Linked DNA regions of Homo sapiens: region 2 is linked to region 1. The links are contacts of gene promoters, found by promoter capture Hi-C in human tissues and cell types (Jung and others, 2019). All regions are on one chromosome and are shown on one strand. Each heading gives the region's core, a stretch centred on a gene start or on the middle of the fragment in contact. The rest is flanking DNA. Distances are from core to core; before and after follow the strand shown.

Region 1 (2,998 bases), core at 306-2,805:
TGTGTGTGTGTGTGTATTTTTCCCCCTCCACCAAGACCTTGGAGGTCAATAAGAGGAAAAAATGGCTCACAAGACAAGGTTTCATGGCTAACCCAAGGGAACACCTTCACAGCTGAAGAATTTCAGCTCAGGGGCAACCTGGCTGGGAGTATCAGAGGCCACAGCATTATGGACCAAGAGCGCAGGCCGCACCACCAGCATCCCAGGCGCCTCTGCCGTGCGCATGTCCCTCTTATATAAAGAGATGCTTACAGTCCAGGTGCTTTTTCTTGGGGCCCATTACTTCATGAGTAGTGGCTTTGCAGACCGCTCTTGCTACAGCAGAGCCTGTAACGCTGTACTGAGCGGCGGCGATCCGATCCGTGAGCGTTTGGCCCGACATCTTCTGTGGTCGCGTCTACCGCCTCCTCTTCTGCAGGAAACAAGGGGAGACGGTCCGGCTTTAATCCGCAGACCCTACCCTCCAAGCACCCAGGCCTTGCCTCCTCCAGCCGCGCGGCGGCTCTCTCCTCCTCCATCCCCACCCTGGCACCACCTCTCGGAGCCAGCAACGCGCCAAGCCCCGCTCCTGCGATGCGGTCCAGGGAGTCTTGGCCGTGAGTAGGGCCGTCACGGAACCCCAGCGTGGGCTCCAGTCGCAGCATCGTGACACCGTCCCCATTCTCCCCCGGCCCCCACATAGGGCCAGACTCACCCCCTGGGGACCCCCCTGTCAATCAGCACTTTCCCCGCAACCTGACCCGCGGGTGCTGGACTAGCCACAACGTGCGTTGGGGTTATTCCCTGGGCGCCGCACCCACCGGTGCCCATCTCCCACCTCAGCAGACTTTCCTCCTAGCAGCCCGCAGGCTTCGGGGAATGCATCGGATACCCAAGCCCTGGCTGCCTCCCTCCTCCTCCTCGCGCTGCTGCAGCAAAGGGCTCGTCCTCCCTCAGTCGCGAAGGAGATTATCCTAGCGTTGCGCCATGTTATGCCCTCGCCTCCCCTTCCTTCCTCGCCGCCGGCTCCAAAGCCTCGCCGAGGCCCATCGCCCGGGCCCCTTCCCCCCGGTTCCAAATCCCTGCCGCAGGGGCCGCCCGGGAGCTCTGCGGAGGCGCCGGAGTCTTGGGGCGCCTCACCCTTCCTGGCTTTGGAGAGGAGCCGGGCTGACAGCGAAGCCCAGTCCCCCGCCCGCCCTGGAGCGCTCCGCGGAGCTGTCACTCGGCCGCTGCCCTTCTCCGCACCCTGGGATTATCCTCTGCGGATCCCCGCGAGACCCTGGCGCGGGGAGGGGGCCGAGTACGGCCGCGGGTACTCACCCCGCCCCTGAGCGGCGCCGCCCGCCGCAGGATGAGCGGAGCCCGGGCCGCCGAGGGAAGCCGCGCCGGTGGATGTGTGCGACCGCGCGTAGCCCCGGTGCCCCCGGGCGCAAAGTCTCCAGCCCTGGCCGGGCCCCGCTCCTCAGCTCCGCGGTCCCGGCGCCCACCGCCCCTGGCCCCTGGCCCCAGAAGCCAGTACCCGCCCGCCGCCGCCTCTTCTGCCAGCGCCGCCGCGTCTCTCTAGCGCTCCGAGCTGCGTCCCCATCCCCGCCCCCACCTCAGCTGTGGCTCCTCCGACGAGTCAGGTGACGGCGGCGGACAAACCCGGACGAGCCCTCGGCGGAGCGCCTCGCGGCCCCCTCCCAGCTACTCACACACACCGCCCCCCGGGGCCGGGAGCTTAAAGGCGAGGGGGCGCCTCGCGCAAGCATCCCCGGCAAGCCGGCGGGGAGAAGAAGGAGGCGGGGAGGCCGACACCCACCCAGCCAGCGGCTCTCCGCTGGGCGCCGGGCCGCCCCTCCGCTGCTGGCGCCGCACCCGGCACGCACTGGGCTCGCGCACCACGCACACCTGCCCGCCGACTGCGGGGGGAGCCCTGGGCGTTGGGGGCGTTGGCCAAGACGGGCGAGTGGGCTTCTCGGGTTCTACTCTGTGAAGGCCAAGGCAAGGGCGTCGTCGCGCGCTGCCTGGCGGAGCCCAGCCCCTTCCCCACACTGTCGCTGACACGCCCGCCTGTCAAAGGCTCCGAGGCCCAGATGAGCAGGGCGATTTTAAATGTCAGATCCTGCCGGCCATCCGCGACCGTCACCTGTGCGTCTTCAGCTCCTCAGGCTCCTCCGCTTGTCTCAGTTACAACTGGGAGCCCGGGTGGGCAGGTAATTCTAGCCACTTTAGTCTTAAACGGATACTGAGGTCTGCTGAAGGGAGAATAATTAACACAGCCGTTAATCGAGTCCCAGATTACCTTCGACAGTAATCATTTGCGTGCATAAAGAAAACCCTTTGTACCCTTAAGAAGTAATTTCTGCCAATTAAATATAGTGTTGGAACGTCCGTCAATTGTATGTCAAGTGTATATTCGAATAGTAAGCAGGAATTTCTAAACAGGGATGTGGAGTTGGTTAATAGCTTCACGTGTTGACATTTTCAAAGGTTGTTATTTATGTTCACCTTTTTTTTTAATTCTCACAGTAGCATGAAGATCAAAACTATATTTGTGAGCTTTCCTGGCATTTTTTCTCCTTGCTTCGGGTGGCTTCTGCTCGGCCTTGAAGCCATATATCGATACCTATCGATCTCAACGTTTTGTTATATATTCCTCTCTTTCACCTGGTACAGTGTTCAGTATGCAGTCATGATTTCCTAACTACTGAGACTGATTCTAGGACTAATTGGAAGCTTAATGACTAAAGAGAGACAGCTTAAGAGCACTATTGTCTCAAGTACTAGTCTTACCATATTTACAAGGGAAATAAAAACGCAATTCTATTAAAAAAACTTGTACTCCAGTTTTATAGCAGCTTAATATAATGGCCCCAAACTGGAGGAAAGCCAAATGTTATTCTACTAGTAAATGAATAAACAAAATATGGTATATCCACATAATGGAATACTACTTAGCAATAACAAGAAACAAACTAATACCATTCATGAATCTCAAATTCATTAGACGAAGGGAAAGAAGCTCTATCAAAAATTC
Region 2 (3,052 bases), core at 187-2,686, 95 kb after region 1:
GGCGTTCTCTGTATTTCCTGAATCTGAACGTTGGCCTGCCTTGCTAGATTGGGGAAGTTCTCCTGGATAATATCCTGCAGAGTGTTTTCCAACTTGGTTCCATTCTCCCCATCACTTTCAGGTACACCAATCAGACGTAGATTTGGTCTTTTCACATAGTCCCATATTTCTTGGAGGCTTTGCTCATTTCTTTTTATTCTTTTTTCTCTAGACTTTCTTGCTTCATTTCATTCATTTCATCTTCCATCGCTGATACCCTTTCTTCCAGTTGATCGCATCGGCTCCTGAGGCTTCTGCATTCTTCACATAGTTCTCGAGCCTTGGTTTTCAGCTCCATCAGCTCCTTTAAGCACTTCTCTGTATTGGTTATTCTAGTTATACATTCTTCTAAATTTTTTTCAAAGTTTTCAACTTCTTTGCCTTTGGTTTGAATGTCCTCCCGTAGCTCAGAGTAATTTGATTGTCTGAAGCCTTCTTCTCTCAACTCGTCAAAGTCATTCTCCATCCAGCTTTGTTCTGTTGCTGGTGAGGAACTGCGTTCCTTTGGAGGAGGAGAGGTGCTCTGCTTTTTAGAGTTTCCAGTTTTTCTGTTCTGTTTTTTCCCCATCTTTGTGGTTTTATCTACTTTTGGTCTTTGATGATGGTGATGTAAAGATGGGTTTTTGGTGTGGATGTCCTTTCTGTTTGTTAGTTTTCCTTCTAACAGAGAGGACCCTCAGCTGCAGGTCTGTTGGAGTACCCTGCCGTGTGAGGTGTCAGTGTGCCCCTGCTGGGGGCTGCCTCCCAGTTAGGCTGCTCAGGGGTCAGGGGTCAGGGACCCACTTGAGGAGGCAGTCTGCCTGTTCTCAGATCTCCAGCTGCATGCTGGGAGAACCACTGCTCTCTTCAAAGCTGTCAGACAGGGACATTTAAGTCTGCAGAGGTTACTGCTGTCTTTTTGTTTGTCTGTGCCCTGCCCCCAGAGGTGGAGCCTACAGAGGCAGGCAGGCCTCCTTGAGCTGTGGTGGGCTCCACCCAGTTCGAGCTTCCAGGCTGCTTTGTTTACCTAATCAAGCCTGGGCAATGGCGGGCGCCCCTCCCCCAGCCTCGCTGCCGCCTTGCAGTTTGATCTCAGACTGCTGTGCTAGCAATCAGCCAGACTCCGTGGGCGTAGGACCCTCCGAGCCAGGTGCAGGATATAATCTCGTGGTGCACCGTTTTTTAAGCCCGTCGGAAAAGCGCAGTATTCGGGTGGGAGTGACCCGATTTTCCAGGTGCCGTCCGTCACCCCTTTCTTTGACTCAGAAAGGGAACTCCCTGACCCCTTGCGCTTCCCAAGTGAGGCAATGCCTCGCCCTGCTTCGGCTCGCGCATGGTGCGCGCACCCACTGACCTGCGCCCACTGTCTGGCACTCCCTAGTGAGATGAACCCGGTACCTCAGATGGAAATGCAGAAATCACGCGTCTTCTGCGTCGCTCACGCTGGGAGCTGTAGACCGGAGCTGTTCCTATTCGGCCATCTTGGCTCCTCCTCCTAAGCTGTAACTCTATTCATTTCTTATATACGTGGCTGGTTCTGGGTCCCTTGCGGTAAAATGATGTATCTGGTTTAAAATTAAACACAAAGATTTGATAACTTCTCATTGCTTCTAAGCATGTGAATTCTGTGGTTCAGCCAGGTAAAGATAATTTTTAAAATCAGAATTAATTTAAACTTGCAGGTGAGCATATGGCTGCTGCATTCATATAATTTCTGCTTGAATGGCCTGTGCTTTTGATGTTCTTTGCTTCTCTTTGTAAATCCTTATTTTTCTTTCCATTTGTGATCTATTCAGTTGTTGATTCCATATAACTGGAGAAGCAGTTTTAATGGAATCATCAGCAGTTTTCACTAATACTTCTCAGAGTTTTGTAGCCAGGGAGACATTTCTCCCAATTCACCTTTATTTCCTTCTGAGCCTTGAGCATACTCTACTTTTCCTGAGGAGTGATTTTCAGGAGTATGATTTGCCCCCTGAGAAGGATTTCAGTGATTTGGTAGAGGAATGAAGAGTATAAAGACTTCTTTGCTTAAGCTGTGTAGCAGCAATTTTCTTCCTTTAAAAGTTAAACCATCTCTTTTCCTTTTCCTACTCTGATATGTTCTCTTACATCAACTCTTTTTTAAAAATTAACATTTAGAGCCACAGCAGGTTGCTAAGAGTACATAGCATGCCATCGTGTTCCAGGGCCACCATGGCCTCTGCTCCTCCTGAGATCATGATCCCTGTAGAGTCCTCCCAGATGGATCTCTTATTTTCCTTACCTTTTTCCTCAAGGGCTCTGGAAGCATTTATCTTTTCATTTAAGACCATTTATAACTAGAAACTAAGCTTTAGTGCTTAGTTCCTTCAGCTGACTTTAGTCTTCCATGATTTCTGTTTCAATGCTAGGGTTTTCTGGTGTTTGATTTTGTTTTCTCTTTGTTCTGAAACATTCAACTTTCCTCTCCCCAGCATTCTATCAGGACATAAAATTGATGCCTATCAAACCCTTAGTATAAGAGTCTGTAGTATGTCACATTCATGTAAGTACATCTATGCTTGTTTATCATGCCACAAACATGTTAAATGATTTTTATCTTTGCAAAAGGTAACATTAGTGTTCCCTGAAGCCAGGTCACATGGAGTAGAATAGGTATAAATTCAGTAAACATAAATCCTGTGTTTTTTTCTTATGTTTTCAAGTCAATATTTTTCTATACACATATTTGCTTATATGTTTAGAAGTTGTTACTTGATGATTAGGGTTGTGATGAATGATACCATCCTTAGACCTAAAAAATTTGTTAAATTAACTTTTTGGTTCATATGGTGCACTCTAGTGGGGTCTACTTGAATTACAAACTGTCCTGTTCCCAGCTCCTTCCATCATTTTTGAAGATTGGGGAATTATCAGAGAGGCAGAAATTAACTAAAAATATACTGTGGCATAACATATATCATTTAAAAACTGGTGAACTCTTCTGAATAAAAGAAACATAGATCCAGAAAGGAGGTGGAAGTATCCAGTTCTTTCTATTGCTTCTAATGAG

The links. The method cuts DNA at HindIII sites, captures the fragments that hold promoters and counts their contacts. A contact is called where the count stands out against the background at its distance.
Region 2: a contact is called between a fragment that was not itself captured here and the fragment with the promoter of SNAP91 in region 1, in 4 of the 25 tissues and cell types used here (H1 embryonic stem cells, heart left ventricle, mesendoderm cells and 1 more).

The regions. Positions count from the first base shown.
Region 1 is chr6:83,707,546-83,710,543 of GRCh38, forward strand. It overlaps SNAP91 (synaptosome associated protein 91), which reads right to left and starts at 1,556. Exons shown (of 30, transcript NM_001242792.2): 1 at 1,300-1,556; 2 at 253-412. The coding sequence starts at 382. LOC105377879 (a long non-coding RNA gene) reads left to right here and starts at 1,897. Exons shown (of 3, transcript NR_136251.1): 1 at 1,897-2,174. RefSeq lists silencers at 525-819, 1,229-1,438, 1,769-1,828. The HindIII fragment of the contact is 7,193 bases long and covers 1-2,998 here.
Region 2 is chr6:83,802,257-83,805,308 of GRCh38, forward strand. No RefSeq gene overlaps it. Among named protein-coding and RNA genes, the nearest start is that of RIPPLY2, 50 kb to the right of the region's middle. The HindIII fragment of the contact is 5,262 bases long and covers 1-3,052 here.